3 separate regions of the Homo sapiens genome follow, and all the other regions are linked to region 3. Evidence: promoter capture Hi-C in 16 types of primary human blood cells and fetal thymus (Javierre and others, 2016). All regions are on one chromosome and are shown on one strand. Each heading gives the region's core, a stretch centred on a gene start or on the middle of the fragment in contact. The rest is flanking DNA. Distances are from core to core; before and after follow the strand shown.

Region 1 (4,186 bases), core at 1,276-3,775, 440 kb before region 3:
GAAATGTTACACTAATAATTAATCTGCCTTTAGAATATTTTAAAAATATCTCTAGTGTCATGTTCTTAACCTCAGCCACTTTTCAGCACTTTTTTAAGAAGATCCCTAAACACACTGGGGAGGTCTGAACTTGTCCAGACTTTGGGGAAACAGGATTCTTTTACATCAGCCTCTTTGTGACTCTGGGGGATTTCATGAGTAACTGTGGAACTTGCCTGCTGTCCTCGCTGTCCAGCAGGCCCCAGTACGTGTTGATCTCACCCTCCAGCCGGGCCTTCACGTCCAGGAGCACCTGGTACTCCTGGTTCTGTCGCTCCAGGTCGCAGCGGATCTCGGCCAGCTGGTTCTCCAGGTTATCGATCAGACACTGAATTTGGGCCAGCTGGGAGCTGTACTGGGCCTCGGTTTCTGCCACGGTGCATTCCAGAGATTCTGTCTGCGGGAGGAAACATTGTCCAAAGGACCATGAAGTGCAGTCTCTCGGGCCAGAGTGCCTACTTTCAAATTCCTGCTTACCCTTTTCTAGCTATGTGACCACTGGCAAATTATTTAGCTTCTGTGAGTCTCAGTTTTATTCTCTGTATAGTGGAGAATACAAAGTATCTGTTTCATTAGACGGTTGTGAAGATTAAGAGTTAATATGCGGGCTGGGCGCGGTGGCTCAGGCCTGTAATCCCAGCACTTTGGGAGGCCGAGGCGGGCGGATCACAAGGTCAGAAGATCGAGACCATCCTGGCTAACACGGTGAAACCCCGTCTCTACTAAAAATATAAAAAATTAGCTGGGTACGGTGGTGGACGCCTGTAGTCCCAGCTACTCAGGAGAATGGTGTGAACCCGGGAGGCAAAGCTTGCAGTAAGTCAAGATCATGCCATTGCACTCCAGCCTGGGCGACAGAGGGAGACTCCGTCCAAAAAAAAAAAAAAAGAGTTAATGTGCGTAAAGCATTTAGAACAGTGCCAGCCATACTGCCACTGTTCTACGTGTCAACTATCACTACCACCACTATGACTACAGCAATACATGACATATTTGTGAAGCTTAAGGACTATCCACAACATATGAGAGGAAAGATTGAGTTTGGGCTCTTGGCAGGGAGGGGTAGTATAGTGCTATTAAGAGAAGAGGCTCTGGATACCAGAGGCTGGGACTGGCATATGTGTGGTAAGGGGATGAAGAGAGGTTGGTTAATGGGTGCAAACATACAGTTAGACAGAAAGAATATGTTTTCATGTTGGACAGCAGAGAAGTGTGACTACAGTTAACAACAATACACTGTGCATTTCAAAATAGCTAGATGGGAGGACTTGAAATGCTCCCAACACATAGAAATGATAAATACTTGAGGTGATGGATGCTCTAAATATCCTGACTTGATCATTACACATTCTATGCATGTAACAAAATATCACATCTACGTAAAAAAAATTTACGCATATTATATATCAATAAAAATAAATTTAAAAAGAGAGAGAGAAGAGACTCTGGGATTCAACTGGCTGAACTCAGCTTCCAAGTTTGCCTCTTAGAATTGCATCCTTTGCAAGTTACTTAATCTGAGTCTCAGTTTTCCTTATCTGTGTCATGGGATAAAGGTATCTATCCGGTAAAGTTACTGTGAGCCTTAAATCAGCATAGTGCCTCTCACAGGATGAATGCTCAGCTATTGTTCTTCTAGGTGTTCTCCGCAGGGCCTAATGACATGCACACAGTGGTGCTTGACCAGAACTGGTTCATGTCATCTTGAACGCATGGTGTTCCTGTTGCTTGAGTGGGGGGTGGTGCAGTGAAGGATAAGGTTGAAGTGTAGATCCTGGGAAACTGTAGGATGAAATGTTTGAAAATGATTCTTTGTTTTAGATATAACAGTGAGCCTGGAAAACTGGCCTGAATCAAATGAGAATTAAAACCTGCCAGAATGCTTAAGCGACCATGGCCCGGAGGTTTCTCTCCAGCTCTGCTTCTCCCTCCCTGTCTCTGGAGGCTGCTGCAGCATCAGACTCAAGCCCAGGAGTGAAGGTAAGGCATCTTAGAGGACAAGCTGTGGACCTGTCACTTCTGCTTCTATTAATAGCTGGGTAAACGGCAGTACTCGGGAAAGGCAAGGAAATGTGATCCTCGGATATGGAAGAGGGCTTAACATCTCAGGGCCTGACTTATCAGTGACACAACGGACACTGCCTTTGCCTCACGCACCAGGCTTTGCTGTGCTTGGAGCTCAATTTCCAGAGCACTGGCTGTGCGTTTCAGTTCCAAGATCTCCATCTGGCAGCCCTGCAGCTGCTCCGCGCTGGACAGTTGCTGCTGATTCAGCTCTTCTGTCTGAAACACAGACACCATTAGAGAATTCAAAAAAGGCAGAAGTCTGTAAGCCTGACATTTTTTCAATCTGGGTACTGACCTGAACAGCCAACCATTCTTCAGCTTCTCTGCGATTGTTGGCAAGCACCGTTTCACACTGACAGCGCATCTCATCCAGGACCCTGTTGAGGTCAAGGGTGGGGGCAGTGTCCAGCTCCACACTGAGGCGGTCGCCAAGCTGTTCACGAAGCAAGTTGACTTCCTGAAAGTGGGATGGTGTAAAGAATGTCACAGAATGGTGGGGAAAAATCCATTTGACATCCAATGGCATTCTACTTCTGTTTTTTGGAGCAGTGGGTAAAAGTGTGAGATTTTGATTCAGATTGCCTGGGCTGAATCTCTTTTCACCACTTAGAAGGGCCTCAGTTTCTTCGTCTGTAAAATGGACATAATAATTGGACATTTTTCCAGAAAGTTATTGTGAGATCTAGAAGAGTCAATCTACACATAATTAACTTATAAAAGTTAATTATGACACATAGTAAGGTGTCAATAAATGTTAGCTATGATTGTCATCAACAAACGTTCAAAGAGCAAATGTACTTTGTTACATCATTCAGCTTTTCATTTTCTAGCTTTATCAATATATCAGTGGCTGTATATTTTATGATTTTTAGAAGTTTATAAATGCGGAATATTTAAAAACACTGGTCCAGATAGTGCACAGTCTTTATCCCTTTTTTGAAATGGACTTCACAGTCTGTTCCTCAGCCTGATTTTCATACCCTGTGGACTGGAGCTAGGGGTGGCATAAAGCCTCCAAAGGAAGCCATTTGTGAAGTTACCTCCTCCACAAAGGCAAGGGCAGGAGAAGAGTTTGATTCCTTCCTCTGGCGCTGTCTAGGGGTTATTTCACACCTTAAATCAGAGACACACTGGAATGATCAGGTTGAATAGTAATAATGCCTCGAGTAGTTTTTGTTTGTTTGTTTGTTTGTTTGTTTTTTGAGATGGAGTCTCGCCCTGTCACCCAGGCTGGAGTGCAGTGGTAAGATCTCGGCTCACTGCAACCTCCGCCTCCTGAGTTCAAGTGATTCTCCTGCCTCAGCCTCCCGAGTAGCTAGGACTACAGGCGCCTGCCACCATGCCCAGCTAATTTTTGTATTTTTAGTAGAGATGAGGTTTCATCATATTGGTCAGGCTGGTCTCGAACTCCTGACCTTGTGATCCTCCTGCCTCAGCCTCCCAAAGTGCTTGGATTACAGGTGTGAGCCACCATGCCTGGCCCTGCCTCAAGTAGTTTTATTCCAGCTTAAACAACATCTGCCCAAATTCGATTTACAAACATCAACAGATCATCTGTCAATGTAAGTACGTTACTCTCGGAGTCCTTCAGCGGAGTTGCCACTTTCCTTACCTCTTCATGGTTTTTCTTAAGGCAAAGGAGATCTTCCTTCAGAGACTCCACATGGGCCTCCAGATCAGATTTGCACAGGGTCAGTTCCTCCAGGATCCCATGCAGGCTGCTGATGTCAGCCTCTAACAGCTGGCGAAGGGACAGTTCACTCTCGTACCTTTCACAGCAAAAGAGAAATCCAACGCTTACTTTGCTGAACGCTGTGCAAAGTGTGGGGATACATGGAGGATCGACACACGGACTTCAGGAAGCCATGTGCATAATTTCTCTTAATTCCTAAGTAATGATAAATTCAAGCTTTTAAAACATTCTTAACTTTAAAATATTATATAGAGAATATTTGTGTGTGTGTGTGTGTGTGAGAGAGAGAGATTGAGAGAGAGAGAGCCATAAGTTATTTTCAAATTAAAATTAAAGCCGGGCGTGGTGGCTCATGCCTGTAATCCCAGCACTTTGGGAGGCCAAGGC
Region 2 (4,205 bases), core at 567-3,066, 320 kb before region 3:
GGCTAATCAGAAACTCAAAAGAAGGCAACCATTTGTCTCTTATATACCTATGATCTGGAAGCCCCCTCCCAGCTTCGAGTTGTCCCGCCTTTGCTTCGAGTTGTCTTGCCTTTTCTGGACCAAATCCGTGTTCATCTTACATATGTTGATTGATATCTCATGTCTCCCTAAAATGTATAAAACAAAAGTGTTATCTGACCACCTTACACACATGTCATCAGGACTTCCTGAGGCTGTGTCACCGGAGCATCCTCAACCTTAGCAAAATAAACTTTCTCAATTAACTGAGACCTGTCTCAGATTTTCTGGGTTAACATTTTGGTAACTGTGAAAGGATTCTGAGTGGAGATGCCCTTGACCTTTGACGAATATCCTGTTGGTGCCTGGTAATAGCATGAGCTAACTTTATGGCTCAAATCAATAGGACAATTTGCTGAGGTCTGGGAGCACCCTCCCCAAAGAATCCCTGATCTCCCCAAATTTGGTGAAGAACTAAAGTTCATTTTGCTGTACAACTGCCCCACCTATTTTTGTTTTTGGAGTTTTACTTGCTTACTTGCCTTCCTTATAAGGAAGGCAAGATTTACTTTTACTTCCTTTACAAGGAAGGCAAGATTTCCTGCTTCCATGATGATGAAAGGCATGTAGAGTTTGAGCTCACTCCCAGCAGGGAAGACCAGTTTGAGTTTTTTTCCTGCTTCTAGGGTGGTAGAAAGCAGCCTTCAGCCTGAGACCCATCCCTAGGTAAGTAGCTGAACTGGGGCTTTGTCTGGGCTAAAGTTTAACAACCAGCTAGCTGCTCTTAATTTCTCCTTATCATTAGAGTGCTTGGTAATCCTATGGTTGGAGATTTTGTTGTTTGTTTTGGTCTTTCTCCCATCAGACTTGACCAACTCTACCTGACTTGGTCAAATCCAAGTGAGAATTCAAAATTACGGGTAACAAAACCTCTCTAATTTGGCTAAAATTCATTGCAGCTGCAAAAGAAGAAAACAAACAAAAAGAACCAAAAACCCATGCACTTGGTTTCTGTGTTTGCTTCCTGTCTTAAAACACGAATGTTCTTTCGTTTACTTTTCTTGCACCATATACCTCCTCCCCCTTTGCCATATGCAGTACCAAAAAGTCTAGAGAAGGCTTCTAATGACTTGAACCCCCTTAAAGAATTCAGAACAAAGGTTGCCACTCACCCCTTTTGGGGTGTTTTGTTTTCTTTGTGGAGTTTCAAGAGTCATGGGTAGATTCTTCTTAACTCTAAACCTCTATTTTCCTGTATTGCATGACCTGACCTCTTTGGCTTTGACCTTGTTGTGTATAGTGGTAGATGAGAGCTACAAAGTTAAGGGGTGGCTGAGCAAGGTTTACAAAAAGTGGTCTTGGCTGTTGTTTTGTTTTCCTTCTAGGAATTTGTCGTTTAAAGATCCTAATTCTAGTTCACAAATGCATTCTAAAGGATCTTCTCTGTTGCTTTTTCTCCCCAAATTAAGCTCAATTCAGCTTGTCTGTGTGCATTTGCATGAGGAACTGAACTGTTGTTTTCAGTGGTGACCCACTGTGGAGTCCTGCCCACAAATGGCACATATTGATCCACCACAGAAAACCTCTAGGCCTCAGCTCAGTTCCTCTTTTTAAGAAGAAAACTGGGAAACAAATAATCTAAGAATGAGGAGAAAGCAAAGAGAATGATTCCCTTTCAAGCACTCCATAGGTTTTATGGCACCTGTACTTGCCAGAGTTTAAGTAAAATGGAAGTAATATGGTCTTTGTGCATATTTACATTAAGAAAGAAAGGGCCCATGTAAATTAGTTCAACCATTGTGGAAGACAGTATGGTGATTCCTCAAGGATCTAGAATCAGAAATACCATTTGATCCAGCAATCCCATTACTTGTTATATACCCAAAGGAATACAAATCATTCTACTATAAAGACACAGGCACATGTATGTTTATTGCAGCACTATTTACAAGAGCAAAGACATGGAACTAACCCAAACGCCCATCAATTATAGACTTGATAAAGAAAATGTGGTACATATACACCATGGAATACGATGCAGCCATAAAACGGAGTGAGATCATGTCCTTTGTAGGGACATGGATGAAGCTGGAAACCATCATCCTCAGCAAACTAACACAGAAACAGAATACCAAATACAACATGTTCTCACTCATATATGGGAGTTGAACTTTGAGAACACATGGACACAGAGAGGAGAGCAACACATATCAGGGGCTGTTGGGGGGTGGGGAATGAGAGGAGGGAATTTAGAGGATGGGTCAATAGGTGCAGCAAACCACCAAGGCACACATATACCTATGTAACAAACCTGCACGTTCTCCTGCATGTGTATTTCATTTTTTTTTAGAAGAGAAAGAAAAGAAGGAAAGAAAGCAAGCAAGCAAGAAAGCAAGCAAGCAAGAAAGAAAGAAAGAAAGAAAGAAAGAAAGAAAGAAAGAAAGAAAGAAAGAAAGAAAGAAAAGAAAAAGAAAGAAAAGAAGAGCCTTAAGGTCAACCTACAAACTACAGAGTTCCTAAGTTCTCTTTTTTCTCTATTTTCTTTTCTGCCTGCTTTAAATCTGCTGTTATTTTTCTATTAAGATCAAAACCACTGTTTGGATACAACAGGCTTTTTGTTTGCAACCTGGTGAATTTGTATTTGTCTCATGGCTAAAGTTCTGAAGTAAAAGCTATAGGATTTCTGTGTGTGTGTTTGTGTGTGTGTGTGTGTGTGTGTGTGTATCTATTTAAAAGGCCTTTATAATTTTTATAATTTTATGTTTAATTGGCAATTAAATCCATTTTGACTTCCCTCTAGCACCACCAGACTTTTTCTCTCTGTACCTTATGATATAATTTTGCTATTTGATTTTTGCCTGAGTTGTTTCCTTTAACATGCAAACTTAAGGCTATTTAGCTGACAACTCCCTAGGGGAGTAAAACAGGTTATTAAGAATTTGAAAGCCTAAGATAGGGGAAAAAAGCTCCTTAAGTATCTATACGATGTACTTCTATCAGCATGCCTACTATGTCTATATATTTATGTGATGTGTACACAATTTCTCGCTACTGAAAATATATAAAAGAGTTCTAATTAATTGGCTTAAGATAAAAAGCACTTGAATCTAATACTTTATCAGGAAAAAAGAAAAGACTAGTTGAATGCTTTCTGAAGTTTATGTAACAAGTAAAATCTTTAATAAATAAGCTAGCTTTAAAATTATTGGTAAAGTAATATTAGACATGTCTTAAAAATTGCCAGCATGCATTTTTGTTTGCATTTATTAATCAAGCAATTTCATGCTTATCCCTGTCAAATACCATAAGGTGTCAAAATTTGCCATGGAGTTACAAAACTGTAATAGAATGATCTTTGCTTGTATAATCTTTAATAAATAAGACATTGATATTGGTTTAATAAAAATAGTCACATCTTGAATTTAGTGAGATTACTGTAACTTCTAATTTTGTGGTTTTGGTGGTCTAGTCCACAGGCAGTAAGATTTAGTTTGAGAATGAACTGTTATAATCTTTGTTTCAAAGGTAAACTATAAACTATGTTCCTCTCAACGTCTGTTCAGCCTGTGCCCAGGATTGAACAAGAACAGTTTGGAGGTTAGAAGCAAGATGGAGTCAATTAGGTCAGATCTTTTTCACTGTCTCAGTTATAATTTTGCAATGGCAGTTCCATAACTTTAAATGATGACTATTGCAGTTTTCATAAATAATCTAGGTAAACAATTCCTTTTTAAAAAGGTGAACAATTGTCATCTAATTCAATGCTTATTTAAAGATTATGTATAAGACAAGTTAAAAGGAACCAGGAAATCAGAGAGATGTAAAGAAAGGTATAAAAATAAAGAGGATAAAGAGGGTTCTTTTTGGTAAGGAAGCTTAAAGAGAAATAATTTCATATGAGAAAAGATCTTGTATGGTAAATTTAGACCTAAAATAAAATGATTGTTTAAGAAAGATGGATGTTCAAAACAAACCAGAAAGTCCAAGCATATCATGAACAGTCTGTAAAAGTCATAATAAGAGGATTAAAAAAAAAACCAACAAACTTTTATATGGTCAAGTTGTCTGTAATTAAAAGGAAATTATAATAGTCTTCCTGAAGATTGGGCTTCATGTAAAAAAAAAAAAGCAATGATAAACAAAATAGTTAGAGCGATGAAATTTTCTTAAGGGATTGATTTACTCTT
Region 3 (4,040 bases), core at 421-2,920:
GGGAGCGCTCACTCTCCAGCCTTCCGTCACAGGAGGCACAGGGTCAAAAAGAATGCCCCAATAGCCCCTCTCAGCTGCCCTGGCTTCCTACCTCCCACACCACCTTGGATCCTTATTTGTTCACGTGGGCAGTATACACTATTCTCAACCCTGCAGCGACACGGTTTGTAGTCAGGACATTATGCCCATTGACCAGATGGAAGACTGAGGCTCAGAAACAAAACACGAGTTGTTCAGAATTCCATGCCCAGTTAATAGTAAATGCATGGACTCATCCTAAGTGTTCTGACTTCAAATGCAGCATTTATTCTGCCATAATAGGAGTCATTTGGCCAGGAAAAAGAATGGCTAAAAATAAGCCTCTGGACCTTCAGTTTGCTGCTTTTCCTCTTGGATTCATTATTTCTCGTTGTTTTCTTGCTTTTCCCCTTCATTCAAGCACAACTCTAGCTACCAAGGAGCTTCAATGACAATTCCTCCAGCTGATGGATTTGGCCAAGAGTCAGAGAGTCTAGCAACAACCTATGCATTGACAGTTTATTTTTGTGATGACTCAATTTTACTTCTGATTGAAAAGCAAAATCCTCTTATCTTCTAGATATGGGAGAAAGTGACATAGGTTCTAACCAATCTAGACTACAGCCCTTCTTTTTCTTTCAATGCTTATATTCTCTTTCCTCCTATATAATGACCATTTCTAGCAACAGGCTAATTTAAGGTGTGGAGAGAAATATTCTTCTAGTCAAAAACTGTTTTTGAACACCTACAATATAGACTGAGTAATGGGGCGGGCCCTTGGAAATACAGCAGGAGAGAAGTCACACTGACCCTCCTCATCCTGACTTACTTGATCCTAAAGTCATCAGCAGCCAGCTTCGCGTTGTCAATTTGTACAATCAGCCTGGCATTCTCAGCCTTGCTGCACAGGATCTGAGGAAAACGGAAAGACGGTTCACACACAAAGCACCATACTCTAAGCTCCCACTCCATGTGTGGTATTTACGCTCATGTCCAAGAGAAACCAAGAACCCAAAGCTCTCTGGACCTTATGCAGATTCCTCCTGCGAAGGCTTCTGCCTTCTCAGACCCAGCATGCCCAGGCGATCCCACACCTCACCTTCTGCTGGAGCTCCTCGATTGTACGGAAGTAGGACTGGTAGTCGGGGCACACGGTGGACTCGTGGCACTTGCTCCTCTCGAGGAGTGTGGTCTCCAGCTCTGCATTCTCCTGCTCCAGCTGGCGCACCTTCTCCAGGTAGTTGGCCAGGCGGTCATTCAGGAACTTCATGGTCTCCTTCTCATGGCCATTCAGGGTGTTTTTGCCGTAGGCCCCACAGATTCCGATGTTGCCGGGAATGTGACAGGTCCCTGGCAAGGGACAAGCAGTGTGACTGGTTGGGGGCAGACAGAGGCTGGGGCGGCCCAGGGGAGTCGACCCCACACGGACTCTGTTGGCGTGTGCCACGTTGGCCAAGAGGCACATGGAGGCAGCATTGGCCTCTGCCACAGGCTGGCACCCAACATCGATAGGAGAGACAAAGACATTTCTTGCTCCAGGAGCCATGGTGCAACCCAGAGGGCATGAGGAGGTGCTGTAGAAGGAGGTCATGGTGTAGGGCTGAGGCTGCACAGGAGCTTCAGATCAGCTGGGAAGGCTGAGCCACTGAGACTGAAGCCTCCTCTCCTCCCAACCCTTTTATACCCCATCCTGGGCGGGTGTTGGCTCCAGTGCTTTGACCTCCTGCCTTGATTATCTACCTGTTGTGGTGCCATCATCCTGTTACTCAGCTGCTGAGTTTACCATGAGAAGTTCCTCAGCTCATTAAAGCAATGTTGACAAATCTGAGATGCCTCTTGGCTCTTCCATATCAGGTTAGCTGTTGGTGGGAAGTCAGAGACTCACTGTTTCTGCTCAACAAACACCAGCAGTTGATTCAGGCCCCAATTGCTCTCTCTGGACTATGGTCTCTGTGGATGTGGTCACAATGAAGGCTCAAATCTTTCCGTCAGTAATTTGTGTAGCAGGAGACACAGAGAACCAATGGGACCCACTGGATCTTTCGCCTGTGCAAGACTGAATCAGCCTTTCCTTTGAAGAGAAAATATCAGTTAATAAAACCAATGCATCTACTGATATTTGACGATTGAGAGGCGCCTTTTTTTCTTTCTTCTTTCACATTGCATACTCCCTTGAGAAGCAATAACATCTGGAAGCAATGGCGCTAATTAAGTTTTGGTTGACTAGTCAGAATCAGCTATTCATTCATTTGTTCATTCATTCATTGGTTCAGCATGCTTCCTGAATATCCCCCATAACTCAGGCAGTGTGCTGGTTCCTGGACACGCAATGTTCCCTGTTCATCAGGAGTAAACAATGCCTCTGAAATCTCTGGATGTTCTACACAAACTTGAATGAGAACCATAGATCAACAAGAGTTAGTGAAAGACAGAGGATCTATAGTTCTGGCCAAGGAAGTATCTAGAAAGAAATCACTAACAAAGAAAAATCTTATTTGATCCAGGAAAGGGAGATTGGGCACAGAGCTCAAGCAGTATTCAAATGAAAGGTCCAGAACTAACATTGATTGAGTACTTAGGTGTGCTAGGCATTCTACTGTGTTCTTTCCTATCTAACCCTTACCACCTATGAGGTGGTTACTCATTGCCTCAATGTACAGATGAGAAAACTAGAGTGAAGTACATTTGCACATTTTCTGATTGACAGTTAGTGAACTGGCAAAGGCTCGATTCAGTCTCATGTCTGCTAGGCCCATTCTCTTTTCACTTCATCATGGCCCCCGGTGAGAACAACGGTGTCATTGCCCCGTCAGTGCTGGGCCTAAGGAGAGGGCAAGAAGGGGCTTAGTTACTGGATGAGAAATTGTGGTGAAAAGAAAATTACTGAAGGTCTTTGTGTTCCAGCAAAGGAAAAGATTTAAATACTATGGCAGTGACAACAAGAAAATGCACTTTAAAAAGTTAAACTAGGCCGGGCGCGGTGGCTCACGCCTGTAATCCCTGTACTTTGGGAGGCCAAGGCAGGCGGATCACCTGAGGTCAGGAGTTCGAGACCAGCATGAACAACATGGAGAAAACCGGTCTCTACTAAAAATATAAAATTAGCCGGGCATGGTGGTACATGCCTGTAATCCCAGCTACTCAGGAGGCTGAGGAGGAGAATTGCTTGAACCCGGGAGGCGGAGGTTTCCGTGAGCCAAGATTGCGCCATTGCACTCCAGCCTGAGCAACAAGATTGACACTTTGTCTCAAAAAAGAAAAAAAAAGTTACGCTAGTTTGTAACATATGCATCATTTAAGACAGGGTGCGTCCTGAGAAATGCGTCGTTAAGAGATTTCTTCACTGTGGAAACATTATAGGGGGAACTCACACAAACCTAGATGGTAGAGCCTACTACACACCTAGACTGTATAGCACAGCCTATAGCACCTGGCTACAAACCTGTACAGCATGTTGCTGTACTGAGTATCATAGGCAACTATTATTAACACGATAATATTTGTGTATCTAAACATAGAAAAGGTAATGCATTGCACTACGACATTATAACCACTTCCACATCACTAGAGAATAGGAATTTTCAGCATCATTATAATCTTGTGGGACCACCGCCCGTATATGTGGTCTGTCGTTGACAGAAACATTCTGACTGTATATCCCAAATCCCAGAGATTTCCAGTAGAGCTGGAAAACAAGTCAACCAATGGGGGTGTGGCCAGGAGTCATCCCTCCCAAGTGGTAGAGGGAAACCAGAAGGACCATGGGACAAGCTCTAAAAGAGTATAAATAAACTCTTTAAAAAAAAAAAAATCCCAATTAGTGGGAAAGTAAATGGCTGATACTAGTAGCAAAACCTTAAGTCTTTGAAATTGACATACTGGAAATGAGCCATTATTAAGATTTTAAATGAAAATAATAGGATTTAGACATAAAATAGGAAGCAAAATACAGTAAACAGAAATCGTGTAGCCAAATATGCATCAAATATGCATTCCCTTCAGCTACACTTTTTTCCTCTGAA

Evidence for each region. Contacts are between HindIII fragments. The CHiCAGO score rates a contact against its expected background, and 5 or more counts as called.
Region 1: a contact is called between a fragment that was not itself captured here and the fragment with the promoter of KRT37 in region 3, in 10 of 17 cell types (total B cells, total CD4 T cells, activated CD4 T cells and 7 more). The highest score is 7.1, in total B cells.
Region 2: a contact is called between a fragment that was not itself captured here and the fragment with the promoter of KRT37 in region 3, in 3 of 17 cell types (total CD4 T cells, naive CD8 T cells and naive CD4 T cells). The highest score is 6.6, in total CD4 T cells.

What each region holds. Positions count from the first base shown.
Region 1 is chr17:40,978,589-40,982,774 of GRCh38, forward strand. It overlaps KRT40 (keratin 40), which reads right to left. Exons shown (of 7, transcript NM_001389244.1): 3 at 3,719-3,875; 4 at 2,402-2,563; 5 at 2,197-2,322; 6 at 216-436. LOC107985072 (a long non-coding RNA gene) reads left to right here. Exons shown (of 4, transcript XR_001752886.2): 3 at 1,861-2,019; 4 at 3,740-4,186. Among named protein-coding and RNA genes, the nearest start is that of KRT40, 3.6 kb to the right of the region's middle. RefSeq lists an enhancer at 1,418-2,019. The HindIII fragment of the contact is 2,975 bases long and covers 1,039-4,013 here.
Region 2 is chr17:41,107,636-41,111,840 of GRCh38, forward strand. LOC124904002 (a long non-coding RNA gene) reads left to right here and starts at 597. Exons shown (of 2, transcript XR_007065754.1): 1 at 597-744; 2 at 2,369-4,205. The HindIII fragment of the contact is 4,149 bases long and covers 1-3,891 here.
Region 3 is chr17:41,422,915-41,426,954 of GRCh38, forward strand. It overlaps KRT37 (keratin 37), which reads right to left and starts at 1,671. Exons shown (of 7, transcript NM_003770.5): 1 at 1,118-1,671; 2 at 848-930; 3 at 1-20. The coding sequence starts at 1,609. The HindIII fragment of the contact is 11,234 bases long and covers 1-4,040 here.